Linked DNA regions of Homo sapiens: all the other regions are linked to region 3. The links are contacts of gene promoters, found by promoter capture Hi-C in human tissues and cell types (Jung and others, 2019). All regions are on one chromosome and are shown on one strand. The core of a region is centred on a gene start or on the middle of the fragment in contact, and the rest is flanking DNA. Distances in the headings are between cores, read along the strand shown.

Evidence for each region. Contacts are between HindIII fragments. The study calls those that stand out against the background at their distance.
Region 1: a contact is called between a fragment that was not itself captured here and the fragment with the promoter of PRDM2 in region 3, in 1 of the 25 tissues and cell types used here (dorsolateral prefrontal cortex).
Region 2: a contact is called between a fragment that was not itself captured here and the fragment with the promoter of PRDM2 in region 3, in 1 of the 25 tissues and cell types used here (liver).

Annotation. Positions count from the first base shown.
Region 1 is chr1:14,936,731-14,939,430 of GRCh38, reverse strand. All of the region lies in intron 1 of KAZN (kazrin, periplakin interacting protein), which reads right to left. Among named protein-coding and RNA genes, the nearest start is that of TMEM51-AS1, 210 kb to the left of the region's middle. The HindIII fragment of the contact is 9,973 bases long and covers 1-2,700 here.
Region 2 is chr1:14,788,463-14,791,162 of GRCh38, reverse strand. The region is part of intron 1 of KAZN (kazrin, periplakin interacting protein); the gene reads right to left. Among named protein-coding and RNA genes, the nearest start is that of KAZN, 190 kb to the right of the region's middle. The HindIII fragment of the contact is 5,713 bases long and covers 1-2,700 here.
Region 3 is chr1:13,698,891-13,701,590 of GRCh38, reverse strand. It overlaps PRDM2 (PR/SET domain 2), which reads right to left and starts at 1,403. Exons shown (of 10, transcript NM_001393986.1): 1 at 1,291-1,403. RefSeq lists a silencer at 881-1,650. The HindIII fragment of the contact is 18,174 bases long and covers 1-2,700 here.

The DNA.
Region 1 (2,700 bases), core at 54-2,553, 1.2 Mb before region 3:
AGGCATGGTGGTGTGTGCCTGTAGTCCTAGCTACTCGGGAGGCTGAGGTGGGAGGATGACTTGAGCCCAGGAGTTTGAGGCTGAAGCGAGCAATGATCCTGCCATGGCACTCCAGCCTGGGAGGCAAGAGCAAGACCCTGTGTCTAAAATGAATAAACAGGCCAGGCACGGTGGCTCACACCTGTAATCCCAGCACTTTGGGAGGCCGAGGTGGGTTGATCACCTGAGGTCAGGTGTTCAAGACCAGCCTGGCCCCATGGTGAAACCCTGTCCCTACTAAAAGTATAAAAATTAGCCTGGTGTGGTGGTGGGTGCCTGTGATCCCAGCTACTCAGGAGGCTGAGGCAGGAGAATAGCTTGAACCCAGGAGGTGGTGGTTGCAGTGAACCAAGGTCATGCCATTGCTCTCCAGCCTGGGCAACTGAGTGAGACTCCATCTCAAAAAACAAAAACAAAATCAAACAAAAAATGAATAAATAAATAAACATCATTATCTGCAATCCATTGTATTGCACACAGTATCTAAGATGGTTTATTGATAAAGCAGCAGCTCTATTTGGCAAGTTCCTACTGTAGGATGGGTGCCATCATTCTCATTTTACAAGAGGTGGAAACTGAGGCTCAAAGAGATTAAGCAGCTTGCCCGAGAGTCTCCAGTGTGGTCTTCTCATAATGCATGAGATTCTGACCAACTGTCGCCAGATATCCCCTTCTAAGTGGGAGAGCAAAGCCCGGGCAGATGCTAACTGCAAAAATTTCTCCCCAGGAAGTCCAAATCCTGCCCCAGTGCTTGACGTCCTATTGAGTATTGGACTCTGGACTTGTCTGACTTGGCCATCTCTCTGGTGAGTCTTATATCACTCCAGCACCCTTTTTTTTTTTTTTTTTGAGATGGAGTTTCCCTCTTGTTGCCCAGGCTGGAGTGCAGTGGTGCGATCTTGGTTCACTGCAACCTCTGTCTCCCGGGTTCCAGTGATCCTCCTGCCTCAGCCTCCCAAGTAGCTAGGATTACAGGTGTCCACCACCACGCCTGGCTAATTTTTGTATTTTTGGTAGAGATGCGGTTTTGCCATTTTGGCCAGGCTGGTCTCGAACTCCTGACCTCAGGTGATCCGCCTGCCTTGGCCTCCCAAAGTGTTGGGATTACAGGCGTGAGCCACCGCATCCGGCCCATTTTGAACCAATACAAATGATCTTAATCTCCACAAAACCCCTACTAGATAGGGCTAGCACCCCAATTTACAGATGAAGATATTGAGGCTCAGAGGGGTTAAGGAACTTGCTCAGGGTCCCCACTGTTGGAACAATTTGCACCCAGGCAGTGGGGCTCTATGACCCTAAGCACTTGGTACATAGACTCCAACGTCCCCACACTCAGAGCCCTGTGTCTGTGTACCTGTCCTAGCTCAGTGAGGGGAGCCTGTTCTACACAAGGAAGGCTAAAACGCCCTAAATACCACCAAGCACAGAGTAAGGCAAAGGTGCCCTGTTGCTAAATTCCTACCTTCCTGGGCCATGCATGCCTGCTCTGCTGTGAGAAGGTAGCATCGGCCTGCCTGCTGGGTATGGATTCAAGTCACCTCTAAAGGAGAGCAATCAGCGCCTTTCAGGGAGATGGCCACGCTCCAGGCACAGGCTGGAAGATCAGACTCCCACTGGGAAGACTGAGAGGAGCCAGATGCCGTCTGGAGCACCCAAAACACCAGCTGCTGTTGCTGACCTCAGCGTGCTCAGCTCTATCAGGGATGTGCCAGGAAACTGGCGAAGGGGACGTGACAGCAAGTGCTTATGCAGCCCCTTGAGGGAGCAGGCACACTGGGGTGGGAAGGAGAAGGTGTTCAGTCAACCCCACCCAGGCCCCATACTCAGGAGGCTGATAGATCCAGGGGTCCTCCTACAAGCTGACCTGGGACTTGTGTGATCAAAGAAGGATGGCAGGGAGAGAGGCGGAGGGGACGTGATTATTACGGCCAGGAGACTGTGGACAGAACCTAAGAGGTGGCAACTGATTTGCTAGTCCTTGAAGATGGAGGGGGAAGGGAAAGGCAGGAAAGTACAAACAACTCGTAAAAGAGAAAACTGAGCTCCTCTGCAGGGAACTAGAAAGGGAGCTGGCCCCAAGTAGGTGCTCTAAGAAAACCTGCAAGTAATTAACTAGCAGGGTCTATGATGAAGGCTCTCCTCTGGTCCTATAACACCTAGCAAGGGGCATAGACACAGGCTTGCTGAGGAGCCATCTTCACCTTCTGCAGCGCCACTCTCTGCCACGCTGTCCTCTGGGTGACACTTGCAGATGGCACTGCAAGAATTATGCCCAGAGGGGCTGCACACTGCAAGAATTATGCCCAGAGGGGCTGCAATGAGCAAGAAAGGCTCACAGAAAGGTTGGGGGCCCAGGATGGGGAGGGATGTGGACTTAGTTCGGGGTGGGAAGATAACAGAGGCAAGAACTAGCAAGGTGAAGGGTAGGAATGAGCCAGGGTGGTTCATGGGACAGACAGGCCCTGAGCTCCTCTCCACTGGAGACAGAAGGGGGACTGTCACGTTTATGGAGCCTCACACAAAACCGAGAACAGAGCAGGTGCTGGATGCCCGCCATGTGGATGAACAAGGAGGCTTGTCGCATCTGGGGACAGGGTGAGGGAGGGTATCTTTCCTTTCTGGTTTCAGTCAGGAGTTTTAGGCAGAAAAAAACCCTCT
Region 2 (2,700 bases), core at 199-2,698, 1.1 Mb before region 3:
GAGGAACAGGAGTTGATGATTTAGAGGCATCTCAAGGCTGTTTCGAGGGCAGGGTTGTCTGTTAAGCACAATGTAAGCAAGCAAGGAAGTGGAGGTAGGGTGGGATGAGACTTGGAGGCAGAGAGATGGCAGCAAATGGAATCCAGCCTGCCCTCCCTTGGAAGCCAGCGGGGGCCGGTGCGGTGGCTCACACCTATAATCCCAGCACTTTCAGAGGCCAAGGCTGGAGGATCGCTTGAGCTCAGGAGTTCGAGATCAGCCTGGGCAGCATGGTGAAACCCCATCTCTATTAAAAATACAAAAGTTAGTTGGCATAGTGGTGCACGCATATCATTCCAGCTACTCGGGAGGCTGAGGTGAGAGAATCGCTTGAGCCTGGGAGGAAGAATTTGCAGTGAGCCAAGATTGCACCACTGCACTCTGCCTCAGCAACAGAACAAAAAAAGAAGTCACCGGATTCCTCCAATTCTAGGAGACCTGGTGGGAAAGGCCAAATCCCTGGCTGGCGGGACTTGGATTGGACAACTTTGTGAAAATTGCTTGAATGACTTCCCAACAAAAGAACTGCCACATACTTAAAGCTAACAAAAAGCCCCTTTGCTTTTTAGGGTGCTGTAAACATTCTGTAATTAGATAGTGGTGATGGTGGCACAACTCTGTTAATATACTAAAAATCGCTGAATTGTACACTTAAAATGGTGAATTTTATGGTATGTGGATTATTATATCTTATGGTATGTGAATTATTACATTTTCCAGTAAATGAATTATTATATTGCAAAATAAGAAAAGTGGAAAAAGCCCCTTTATTCCATGTATATCCCATCCTGGGTCAAGAAATTCAGGAATGCTGCCAGGCATGGTGGCTCACGCCTGCAATCCCAGCACTTTGGGAGGCCGAGGTGAGCGCATCACTTAAGGTCGGGAGTTCAAGACTAGCCTGACCGACATGGAGAAACCCCGTCTTTACTAAAAAAAAAAGAAAAAAACAAAATTAGCTGGACATGTGGCACATGTTTGTAATCCCAGCTACTTGGGAGGCTGAGGCAGGAGAATTGCTTGAACCTGGGAGGCGGAGGTTGCGGTGAGTCAAGATTGCGCCATTGCACTCCAGCCTGGGCAACAAGAGTGAAACTCTGTCTCAAAAAAAAAGAAAAAAGAAAAAAAAAGAAATTCAAGGAATGCCAAGATATGGTGACTCAGTTATAGGAGACCATATTCCACAAAGAAAGAAAAGAATCCTTTGACAAATGGTGGTTAGGAGATGTCATCTACTCCGTGCCTGGAGCAATTTGTAGCCAGAGCATAAGCTTTAATTCAGCAAACATATTAACTGTGTGCCAGATACTGTCTAGGCTCTAGGGATTTTTTTTTTTTTTTTTTTTTTTTTTTTTTTTTTTTTGGTAATGAGGAGCTTAGAGTCCTTGCCTTCAGAGTAAGAATGGGGACTCAGATAAGAGGACAGATGACTTGAGGACAGGACAGAACACACCATAGGCAGGAGGGAGGTGCTAAAGTTTTGTTTTAAGGAGGCCCAAAGGGGGACCAGGTCCCATCTGATCACAGGAAACAGGAAAGGAGACATGGAGAATGTAGAATCAGAGATGAACCTGGAAGGGTCCCGACTGGTGGGTGTCCCGATAGATGGAAATGCTTCCCAAGGCTGGTTCAGGTGAGAGGCACCAGAGGAGCAAAGGTTCAGCCACTGGAACATACACAGGTGTTTCCATTTGCCTGGACAGTGGGGCATGTGGGGAAGCAGAGGGAAGCAGGTCTGGAAAAGTGAGGAGGGTCTTGCACATCAGCTGACCGGAATGGATGGATTTGGTCTGTGGAAACAGACTTTATTGGACAGTGACTTAATCACATGTGTTCTTCCCTGACTCTGGGATGGCTCTAGTTTTAAGCAGTAAGGCAGACAAGGTTTGCCTTGGGAAGCCCTCCCTACAATCCCGTCTACCAGATTCCTGGCGTCCTCCTGTCCCCAAAGCCCTCAGCCTGAGTAGGCCCCCTCCTGGGAGATGCTCAGTGAATATCAAATGAGGGAATGAACGAATGCTCCCGACATGTAAGACCCTCATCCGCATATCAAAACTAACCCGTCCAGTGTCCCATCCCTTCAGGACTCTGCTAGAAAAGAGCCAGATTATCTACTCACTTGTTCTCATGAAGGCATTATGGGAAGTTAAAGGTAACCTTCCCAGGTAAAGGTAACTGCGTTTGTAAATTGATGATCTGGAGGAGATCTTAACCCATGGGATTCTGATGGTGGTGTCTCAGGGTGTCCCAGACATCAGAGGTGGCTGTCCACATGCCTCAGATCACACCACTTCCCTTCTTAGGTGACCTCCTACGTGTACAAGTGACCTCCCACGTGTACAAGTGGTGACCTCCCACATGTACAAGTATCTTAAAGGTGATGAAACTGCAGAAGAAAAGCCATCTCCAGCTTGGAAGATGAGTGTCGGTAGCAGCAGAGTCACCACGGTCAGGCCTCTGGGTCGTAAGCTTTGACGGAGGCCCTTTGGTGCCTGGTGCTTTAGGGTCTACTGGGTCTCAATGCATCTTTTATTCATGCAGACAGGTGCCTGTAGCTCATGGCTCATCACTCTAAAAGCCTGAGGTAGGAGAAAGAAAACCTTATAAGCCTTTGTGCTGCATCGATCTTCTTGGACAGAGACTATTCTTGAAGGCTGCCTC
Region 3 (2,700 bases), core at 154-2,653:
AGCCTCAAGAGTGATGGGGCAGTTTGGACCATCTCAAAAACACAGAACCCTACTAAAAAAGAACGTATGACAGTGTGTCTCAGTTCCTCCTCCTTAATATATGTAAATTTCCTATCATGTTTTTTTTTAAAAGGCCTACATTTTTCTAATACTTGGACACAACTGATCAAACCGAGGCGAAGTGTGTACCATTGTAAAAGAAATCATTGAAGAGTTCCATTTGTTGTTAAAAGTTTCGGTCACTTTTAATAAACCTGGAGTAAACAAAAACTTAAACATTTTAGTCGAGTTCTGGGGTAAAAATGATTCTTCTAGTGTCTGGTTAAAGGGATCTAAGGACCTACTGGGATTCAGCAAAAGACGTTCCACGTCTCAAATACACCCAAAATCTCAATACAACACTAAAAGAAAAGTGAGGGGCCAGCACGAAATTTCTGTTAGGGGAAATTTCAGCTGCGTAGTTAAGGAAATCAGGACTTCCCGGTTAACTATGGGGTCTTTGCCGCAGCTCACAGCCCGACACAAAGCTACAAGCCCGGAGGGTCGGTGGCTCACGCGTGGATCGAAAGAACCACGAAGGTTTGGGGAATGACACTGACCTGTTAGGTTTACTTCATGTCTCACTTACCACCATCAAAAGAGGTTCATTGATAGCTTTATTAGCAAAATTAGTAACAGAGTTGCACGTCTGTAACACACACACACGCGCGCGTGCGCACACACACACATACACCCGTGGGTCTATGGGAACATTGAGGGAGACAATCTCCAGGTTAAAACCACACAAAAACTATTTGGGAAACACAAAGACGCAAGACACAAAACAAATTTGGAGTGCAAATGTGCAAGACACACTCAGTGGGAACACAAAAGAGAAAAGCACAGCGGCTTGACAATTGGGACGGCGCCCGGCCCCACGTGGGGCCCCAGGTGGCCCCACCGCCGCCCGCACCCGGCCAGTCTCTGCAGCCCGCACGCGTCCCCCGCGGGGCGCGCGGCTCTTCACGGCGACAAACCGAATCCCGAACTTCGCCGCAGGGACCCCACGGCCGACAAGGAGGAGCCCGGCGCCGCCACCCACCCGCGGGGCCACCGACCCGGAGGCCCGCGCCTCGTCCCGGGGCCCCCGGCACGCCCGGGACCTCTGAGGGGGCGCGTCCGCCGACCCGGCCATCCCTGCGGCGCCGGGTCCCCAGCGTGTCGCCGCCGCCGTCGCCGCCGCGCTCCTCGGGGGGAGGGACCAGCGTCCCGGCGCGAGCCCAGAGGCCGCCCACCCGCGCCACTCCTTACCCGCGCCCGCCGCGCCAGCGCCTCAGAGCACCGAGGGCCGCCGCCGCCGCCGCTGTTTCGCCGGCCCCGGCGCCCGCGGCCGCGCCGCCGCCATCTTGACTCCAGTCGGAAGTGACGTCGGGCGGCGAGGCAGTGGCCTGCGGGGCTGGGGGGCTCCGGGACCCCCGGTCTCCCCACGATCCCAGAGCCCGGCCCTTGACCCTGCGCCGTCGCCCAATGGCCACCACCCAGCCGCCCCTCGTAGGTCACCGCGGATCCCATGGCGGCGCCTCGGGAAGGAACCCCGGCGGCTGGCGTCGCGGCAAGTCCGACCGCACCCTAGGGCTAGGATCCTGCGTGGTTCAAAGATTCTCAAAGAATCAAAAAGACTGAAGGAGGTGTTGGGGGGGCATGTCTATCGTTGGAGGTCATTAAATATCTGACAAGTACATAAACGTAGACCTTATACTTCTACGTTTGGATCTATACCAAAAAGATCCAACTCCAGGCAGACAGACGCAGCTGCTGGGTTTATTTGCTGCCCTAGTACCCAGGAGCAGTGACCAACGCTGCCCTGTGCCCGCGATGTTCCAGTGCAGCGCCTCTGAGAGCGCGGTAGTAGTCCTGCCCTTAAGGAGCTTGCTGTTCCCAAGCGGGCAAACAAATGGACTGCAGAGACGACGACTCATAGATGTTCTGATGAAGATGAACTGGGTGGAACTGGAGATGGCTCTTCGACATCCAAGGGTGGAGGCCTAGCACGTGGTTGAAAATGAGTTGAGTCGGGGAGAAGCACAGGCTGGAGATGAGCTGGAAAGTTGGGAGTTGTCGTTATAGATGGTGCCTGGAGCCTTCAGCACTTCAAGATAAAGTAATCCTCTGAGAATGAAGTCAGGAAGAATCCGAATGTGATGGCTACGTTGGCCATCTGCAGAAAGCACCCAGTGGAAAAACAGGATACTAAGGGCAGGTGTGCTTCCAAAAATTATGAACGATCATTTATGTAACAGGTTTAATCTTAAGAAAACGTGTTGGCCGGGCGCAGTGGCTCACGCCTGTAATCCCAGCACTTTGGGAGGCCAAGGCAGGTGGATCACGAGGTCAGGAGATCGAGACCATCCTGGCTAACACGGTGAAACCCCGTCTCTACTAAAACTACAAAAATTTAGCCGGCCGACGTGGCGGGTGCCTGTAGTCCCAGCTACTCCGGAGGCTGAGGCAGGAGAATGGCGTGAACCCAGGAGACGGAGCTTGCAGTGAGCCAAGATCGCCCCACTGCTCGCCAGCCTGGGCGACAGAGACAGACTCCATCTCAAAAAAGAAAGAAAACGTGTTGTATCAACATATATCATGTTATCTTATTGTAAAAGAATGAGGCTAGGCCGGGCGCGGTGGCTCAGCCTGTAATCCCAGCACATTGGGAGGCCGAGG